Regions from separate parts of the Homo sapiens genome. Here region 1 is linked to region 2. Evidence: promoter capture Hi-C in human tissues and cell types (Jung and others, 2019). All regions are on one chromosome and are shown on one strand. Each heading gives the region's core, a stretch centred on a gene start or on the middle of the fragment in contact. The rest is flanking DNA. Distances are from core to core; before and after follow the strand shown. Region 1 overlaps PRH1-TAS2R14 (PRH1-TAS2R14 readthrough). Region 2 holds the start of TAS2R19 (taste 2 receptor member 19).

Evidence for each region. Contacts are between HindIII fragments. The study calls those that stand out against the background at their distance.
Region 1: a contact is called between a fragment that was not itself captured here and the fragment with the promoter of TAS2R19 in region 2, in 9 of the 25 tissues and cell types used here (aorta, bladder, heart left ventricle and 6 more).

The regions. Positions count from the first base shown.
Region 1 is chr12:11,116,522-11,120,360 of GRCh38, reverse strand. The region is part of intron 1 of PRH1-TAS2R14 (PRH1-TAS2R14 readthrough); the gene reads left to right. All of the region lies in intron 1 of PRH1-PRR4 (PRH1-PRR4 readthrough), which reads left to right. It also overlaps a transcript of PRH1 not described here. Among named protein-coding and RNA genes, the nearest start is that of TAS2R30, 16 kb to the left of the region's middle. The HindIII fragment of the contact is 6,748 bases long and covers 1-3,839 here.
Region 2 is chr12:11,020,296-11,023,960 of GRCh38, reverse strand. It overlaps TAS2R19 (taste 2 receptor member 19), which reads left to right and starts at 1,341. Exons shown (of 1, transcript NM_176888.2): 1 at 1,341-2,342. The coding sequence starts at 1,390. The coding sequence ends at 2,289. All of the region lies in intron 3 of PRH1-TAS2R14 (PRH1-TAS2R14 readthrough), which reads left to right. The region is part of intron 3 of PRH1-PRR4 (PRH1-PRR4 readthrough); the gene reads left to right. It also overlaps a transcript of PRH1 not described here. The HindIII fragment of the contact is 6,813 bases long and covers 1-3,665 here.

The sequences.
Region 1 (3,839 bases), core at 278-2,777, 96 kb before region 2:
TGTCTGGTCCCTACACCACACATGTATAGGCAGACTTCATGAAGCCCAGCTAAAATAATAAAATTGATTTCAGTTATCATCAAGCACAGTGAGGACAGAAATAGCAACAAAACACATTACTTTAGGCAAAGATACTCTTTTCTTGAAAACCCAAACTACATTCCATTACCTTTCATAACAGTCATATTCCTTGTCCATTCTTGTTTCTACCATGGTTCTAACTCCTACTTTTATTCATTACATTAATCAAAGTAATTCTCTTTCAAAGAGGAAACTGGAAGTTATGTAATTGAGGACTATTAAAAATAAGTATTTTGGCAGATGTGCAAAATTCTCAAGCACATATATTACAACTTTCTATAGTCATATACATCCTTTTTACACTTGCTTGAATTGGCATACAAAACTCCCATGTTTGTTAATGTAATCCAAACAAATAGCCAGTCCATAAAATATAAAAGTTACATTTAGTTATTTATTTATATAACCCGTGATTGGTGACCACATTTCAGTATTCCATCTTAACTAGTAATTATCCAAAGATTTTCATGAAGTCACTGAATCTAATATTAGTCTAAGGTCTTGAACTAGGAATCTTGGAAATTAAATTTAAGACAATAGGCTACAGAAAATAATTACTGTCAATATGTGGAATTTTTCATAATTTGTATTCAGTTTGTTTGAAAACATAATTTTACATTTTTTGGTATTTTAACATTATGTGGGCATATTAGTTTACCTTATCAGTAAACAGGTATGGGAAGTTTAGGAATTTCTTTTTTTTTAATGTATTTTTAAGTTTTGTGGATATATAGTAGGTCTGTATTGAGTACACGGGATGTGTTGATACAGGCATGCAAAGAGTAATAATCACATAAGAATGGGGTAGCCATCCCCTCAAACATTTACTCTTTTTTGTTACAAACAATCCAGTTATACTCTTTTAGTTACGTTAAAATGTACAGCTAAATTATCATTGACTATAGTCACTCTGCTGTGGTATCAAATAGTAGGTCTCATTCACTCTTTCTATTTTTTTTTTTTGGTAGCCATTAACCAGCCACACCTTCCCTTTAGCCCCCACTACCTTTCCTAGCCTTTGTTAACCATCTATGTACTCTCTATGTCCACGAGTTCAATTGTTTTGATTTTTAGATACCACAGATGAGTGAGAAAGTGCAATGCTTGCCTTTCTGCACAAACATTGCAGTTATTTTTTACTTATTCAACTTAACATAATAATCTCCAATTCCATCCGTATTGCTGCAAATGACAGGATCTCATTTTTTAAATGGCTGAATAGTACTCCACTGTGTATATGTACCACATTCTCTCTCCCTCTTTTTTTTTTTTTTTTTTTTTTTTTTGAGATGGAGTCTCGCTCTGTCTCCAGGCTGGAGTGCAGTGGCGCAATCTCGGCTCACTGCAACTTCAGCCTCCCAGGTTCAAGTGGTTCTCCTGCCTCAGCCTCCTGAGTCGCTGGGACTACAGGCGCCAGCCACCACGCCCAGCTAATTTTTTTGTATTTTTAGTAGCGATGGGGTTTCACCATGTTGGCCAGGATGGTCTCAATCTCTTGACCTCATGATCCACCCACCTCGGCCTCCCAAAGTGCTGGGATTACCGGTGTCAGCCACCGCCCCCGGCCATACCACCTTCTCTTTATCTATTCATCTGTTGCTGGACACTTTGATTGCTTCCAAATCTTGGCTATTGTGAACAGTGCTACAACAAACATGGGAGTGTGGATACCTGTTTGATACACTTACTTCCTTTCTTTTGGGTATATACCCACCAGCGAGATTGCTGGATCATATGGTAACTCTAATTTTAGTCTTTTGAGAAACCTTTAAACTGTTTTCCATAGTGGTTTTACTAATTTATATTCCCACCTGCGGTGTACAGTGGTTCCCGTTTCTCCACATCCTCACCAGCATTTGTTACTACCTGTCTTTTGTATATAAGCTGTTTTAACTGGGATGAGATGATATCTTATTTTAGTTTTGATTTGCATTTCTCTGATGATCAATGATGTTGAGCACCTTTTCACATGTCTGTTTGACATTCGTATATCTTGTTTTGAGAAATGACTATCCAAATATTTCACCCATTTTTTTGATCAGATTGTTAGATTTTTTTTCCTATACAGTTGTTTAAGCTCCTTTTATATTCTGGTTATTAATCCCTTGCCAGATGAGTAGTTTGCAAATATTTTCTCCTATTCTGTGGATTGTCTCTTCACTTTGTTGATCATACCTTTGCTGTGCAGAAGTATTTTTTAACTTGATGTGATCCCAATTGTGCATTTTTTACTTGGTTGCCTGTACTTGTAGGGTATTACTACTTAAGAAATTTTTGCTCAAACCAATGTCCTGGGGAGTTTCTCTGATGTTTTCTTATGGGAGCTTCATGGTTTGAGATCTTAATCATACATCTTTAATCCATTTTGATTTGATATTTGTATAGATATATGGGCCTAGTTTCATTCTTCTGCATATGGATATTCAGTTGTCCCAGCACCATTTATTGAAGAGACTGTCTTTTTCCAGTGTACGTTCTTGGCATCTTTTTCAAAAATGAGTTCACTGTAGGTGTGTGGGTTTGTTTCCGAGTTGTCTGTTCTGTTCCATCGTTCTATGTGTCAGTTTTAATGCCAGTACATGCTGTTTTGGTTTCTGTAGCCTCAGTAGTAAGTATCATATGAAGTCAAGTAACATGATTCCTTCAGTTTTGTTCTTTTTTCTTAGGATAGTTTTGGCTATTCTGGGTCAGTTGTGGCTCTATATAAATTTTAGGATTGTTTTCTCTATTTCTGTGAAGAATGTTTTTGGTATTTTGATAGGAATTGCATTGAATCTGTAGATTCTTTGGGTAGTATGGCCATTTTAACAATGTTGATACTTCTAATCCATGAACATGGACTATCTTTTCTTTTTTTGGGTGTCCTTTTCCATTTCTTTCATTAGAGTTTTATAGTTTTCATTATAGAGCTATTTCATCTCTTTGGCTGAGTTAATTTTCAGGTATTTAATTTTATGTGTGACCTTTGTAAGTGGGATTACTTTTTTGATTTTGTTTTCAAATTGTTCACTATTGGCATGTAGAAATACTACTAATTTTTTATGTTAATTGTGTATTCTGCAAATTTACTGAGTTTGTTTATCAATTCTAATAGTTTTTGGTACAGTCTTCAGGTTTTACAAATATAAGATCATATTGTTTACAAACAAGCGTAATTTGACTTGTTCCTTTCCTATGTGGATGCTCTTTATTTTTCTTGAGTGATTGCTCCAGCCAGAGCTTCTACTATTATGTTGAATAATAGTAGTGAATGTGAGCATTCTTGTCATGTTCCAGATCTTAGAGGAAAGCCTTTTAGTTTTTCCCAATTTAGTATGATACTAGTTGTGGGTCTTTTTATGTGATTTTTATTATGTTGAGATTTTCCTTCTATATCCAGTTTTCTGAGGGTTTTTATCATGAAGGAATGTTGAATCTTATCAAATGCTTTTTCAGCATTAATTAAAACGTTTATATGGTTCTTGACCTTCATTCTGTATATATGATGTATCACATTGATTGATTTGTGTATGTTGAACTATCCTTGCATCCTAGGGATAAATCCCACTTGTTCATGAGGAAATATCTTTTTAATGTATTATTTAATTTGGTTCACTAGTATAGTATTGAGACTTTGGAATCAATATTCATCAGAGATATGTGCTTGTTGTTTTCCTTTTTAGATGTGTCTTTGTCTGGTTTTGGTATCAGGGTAACAAGAATTTCAAGAATGAGCCTGGAAGTATTCCCTCTTCCTCTGTTTTTCAGAATAGTTTGTG
Region 2 (3,665 bases), core at 92-2,591:
ACACAACAATGGTGGGCATATTTCCCACACTCCTGATTTAGCAGAATACCTACATCACTTATGTTTTTCTGCAAGAGAAAACTGAGTTAGATAATTGTGTATCATTATGTCTTTGGATTACATTTTTCTAACCTAGGTTTGGTGGATGGCTCTGGTGATTGGAGATGGGCCACGTACTGCATCTTGCCGCTAGTTTGGCTGATTTAGGGTAGATAAGGCAGTGGCATTCTGACTCCATTAGTTTCTCTTTCTTCTTCTGGGAACAGTGTGCTAGCCAGATGATGTCCTCATGGTTAGTGGAAAAGAGCAGGAAACTTCAATATGGAAGCCATCTTAAATCTCTGTAAATTCTACTAATTTCCTGTTGACTGAAGCAAATTACGTGAGTGAATTCAGAGTCCAAGGTCAAGGTAGTCACCCTGCCTGAGGTGGGAGGGTACTGCAGGATTATGTGACAAAGAGTAGGGTACTTAGAAATATTTACAAAATTGCTGAACATTTTAATTAAATAATTAATGTTTAAACAAAACAGACTTGAGTGTAAATATACCAAAGGCCTAAGCTTGAGAAACATGTTTGATAAATATTATTCATTGTCTGACAGCCCTGAGTTGGAAAATAAGACTAATACCACCTGGATGAGTTCCTGGAAACTCATTTTCCATTTGGGGAATTATAAGAAAATAATTCCTTCCATGCCCTAAGGGTGTGAGTGCATGTGTGTCTATGTGTTTAGGAGCTTATTAACAATGATGTCATATCAATTTATTGGTTATCAGAAACCAGATTTTAAAGTGTATCAGCCTCCCAGGGATTTCCAAGATAATCTTGGATGATTTTGATAAAAGGTTTAGAATCTGGTATTTAAATCTGGCATAAAAATAAGTCCATATTGGTATGATCCTAGTTATGACCAAGCTCCTTTAACAATTTAGACATTTACTATATGATATATGTATTGGGTTTTACAATTTCCCTATGGAACAACTGAAGATGCTGTATACAAATTATGGAGAGGTTAAACAAGGAAAAAAATTGCAAAACAATGAAAAATAATATGCCTTTCTTTGCATACTAACACATGAGAATTCATTTTCCACTTCAACCTCAGTATAAAAAAGTACAGCATATAGCAAGGAGAGAATGTATATGAAGAGGAGTGAATTTGAGCTGTTTTGAGAATAATGACCTTTTCTATTTCTATAAAGACAGTTTTGAATTCATCTATTAGCATATGCTGGTGCTTGCCTGTTGACACTAGTCACTGAATTTAAAGGCAGAAAATGTTATTGCACATTTAGTAATCAAGTGTTCATCGAAGTTAACATCTGGATGTTAAAGGACTCAGAACAAGTGTTACTAAGCCTGCATTTTTTTATCTGTTCAAACATGATGTGTTTTCTGCTCATCATTTCATCAATTCTGGTAGTGTTTGCATTTGTTCTTGGAAATGTTGCCAATGGCTTCATAGCCCTAGTAAATGTCATTGACTGGGTTAACACACGAAAGATCTCCTCAGCTGAGCAAATTCTCACTGCTCTGGTGGTCTCCAGAATTGGTTTACTCTGGGTCATGTTATTCCTTTGGTATGCAACTGTGTTTAATTCTGCTTTATATGGTTTAGAAGTAAGAATTGTTGCTTCTAATGCCTGGGCTGTAACGAACCATTTCAGCATGTGGCTTGCTGCTAGCCTCAGCATATTTTGTTTGCTCAAGATTGCCAATTTCTCCAACCTTATTTCTCTCCACCTAAAGAAGAGAATTAAGAGTGTTGTTCTGGTGATACTGTTGGGGCCCTTGGTATTTCTGATTTGTAATCTTGCTGTGATAACCATGGATGAGAGAGTGTGGACAAAAGAATATGAAGGAAATGTGACTTGGAAGATCAAATTGAGGAATGCAATACACCTTTCAAGCTTGACTGTAACTACTCTAGCAAACCTCATACCCTTTACTCTGAGCCTAATATGTTTTCTGCTGTTAATCTGTTCTCTTTGTAAACATCTCAAGAAGATGCGGCTCCATAGCAAAGGATCTCAAGATCCCAGCACCAAGGTCCATATAAAAGCTTTGCAAACTGTGACCTCCTTCCTCATGTTATTTGCCATTTACTTTCTGTGTATAATCACATCAACTTGGAATCTTAGGACACAGCAGAGCAAACTTGTACTCCTGCTTTGCCAAACTGTTGCAATCATGTATCCTTCATTCCACTCATTCATCCTGATTATGGGAAGTAGGAAGCTAAAACAGACCTTTCTTTCAGTTTTGTGGCAGATGACACGCTGAGTGAAAGAAGAGAAACCCTCAACTCCATAGATTCACAAGGGGAGCATCGTGGGTCTTCTAGCAGAAAACAAACTGATGGTGTCTGGAACATTTTATATTTCTATCAGTTTTTCCATAGTGTTTGTATGTGAGTAATTTCAAAACAGATACCTAGAAAAGTCATATATATATTTATGGGTGTATATGTGTGCATGTGTGTGAATAACAACGTTGACCATAAATTATGAAGCTGAGTATATTTCACATATATAGTATTTATATTTTATTATAGTTCATTGTATAGTATTTCATTTGAAGAATTTATTATCTCTCTTTATAATTAAGAACGTACAGCTTTTATGAAGAAATCATTTCTCTTTTCCATTGTAATTTGTACCACATATATGTGCTTAACTATCATTGGTGAACCTCTAATTTTTTGGATGGTAAAGACATTCAATTTTAAATCAATGATAAGAATGGATCTTTGGGGTAGGTTTTATTTCATTATGAATTCTTATTTTATGCTTAGTAGAAAGCAAATAGAATTGTTGTTAGTTAATGATGCACACAATAAAATTGGAGTGAAAAACATATGTAGAGTAAATTTTGTATATGTATACCAAAACAGTACTAAAGAATACTAGATTTAATACCAGTATGTGAATAGCCTAGAATAAAAATCATTTCTATAATAGGAATGAAGAAACATGCTGATGATCATTTCAGTGCTGTTATAATTTTTTTATCTGTAGTTAGAAAAGTCATTGCTTCCACTTTTTGAATTAAAGGAAACCTTTTGTGAAGTTGACATCTGATGTCAAGTATTTCCATTTGTTTTTCTTAGCCACCTTGAGCCCCTGAATTTCCAATTTTCTCCTTTGTCTCCCATTCCTAATATTCCTCAAAAAAACTCAAATATTCTCTATCTTAAAAAAACAGGCCAATCAAAGGAGGGTATAGAAACTATAGAAGATAATCAAATGAAACTTTCCTCAAATGTTAAAAATTATGTAAAAATTACATAAAAATCTGTGAAATCTATATAATTGATAGGAAATGTATTAATGATATGTATTATTATAATGGTGTAAATGGTGAAATTACACAGTGTGTTGATGTATCCATTGATACCAAGTTCTATTATAAGAAGGAAATGTACAGCCTTGTTGAAGAGCTAAATTCTGTGTGACTGTGTTAATTCTTGGTGTTATGAAATTTTAACATTATTATGTAGAACTTAAAATAAGTTAACTCCACATCATATATATATCTATGTATCTATATCTATATCTATAGACATATATATATATATATATATATATATATCGCTTATCATACGTCCTCCCTAGTACAATGTAATCACCATAAAAAGAGAGGTCATATCTGTCTCGCTT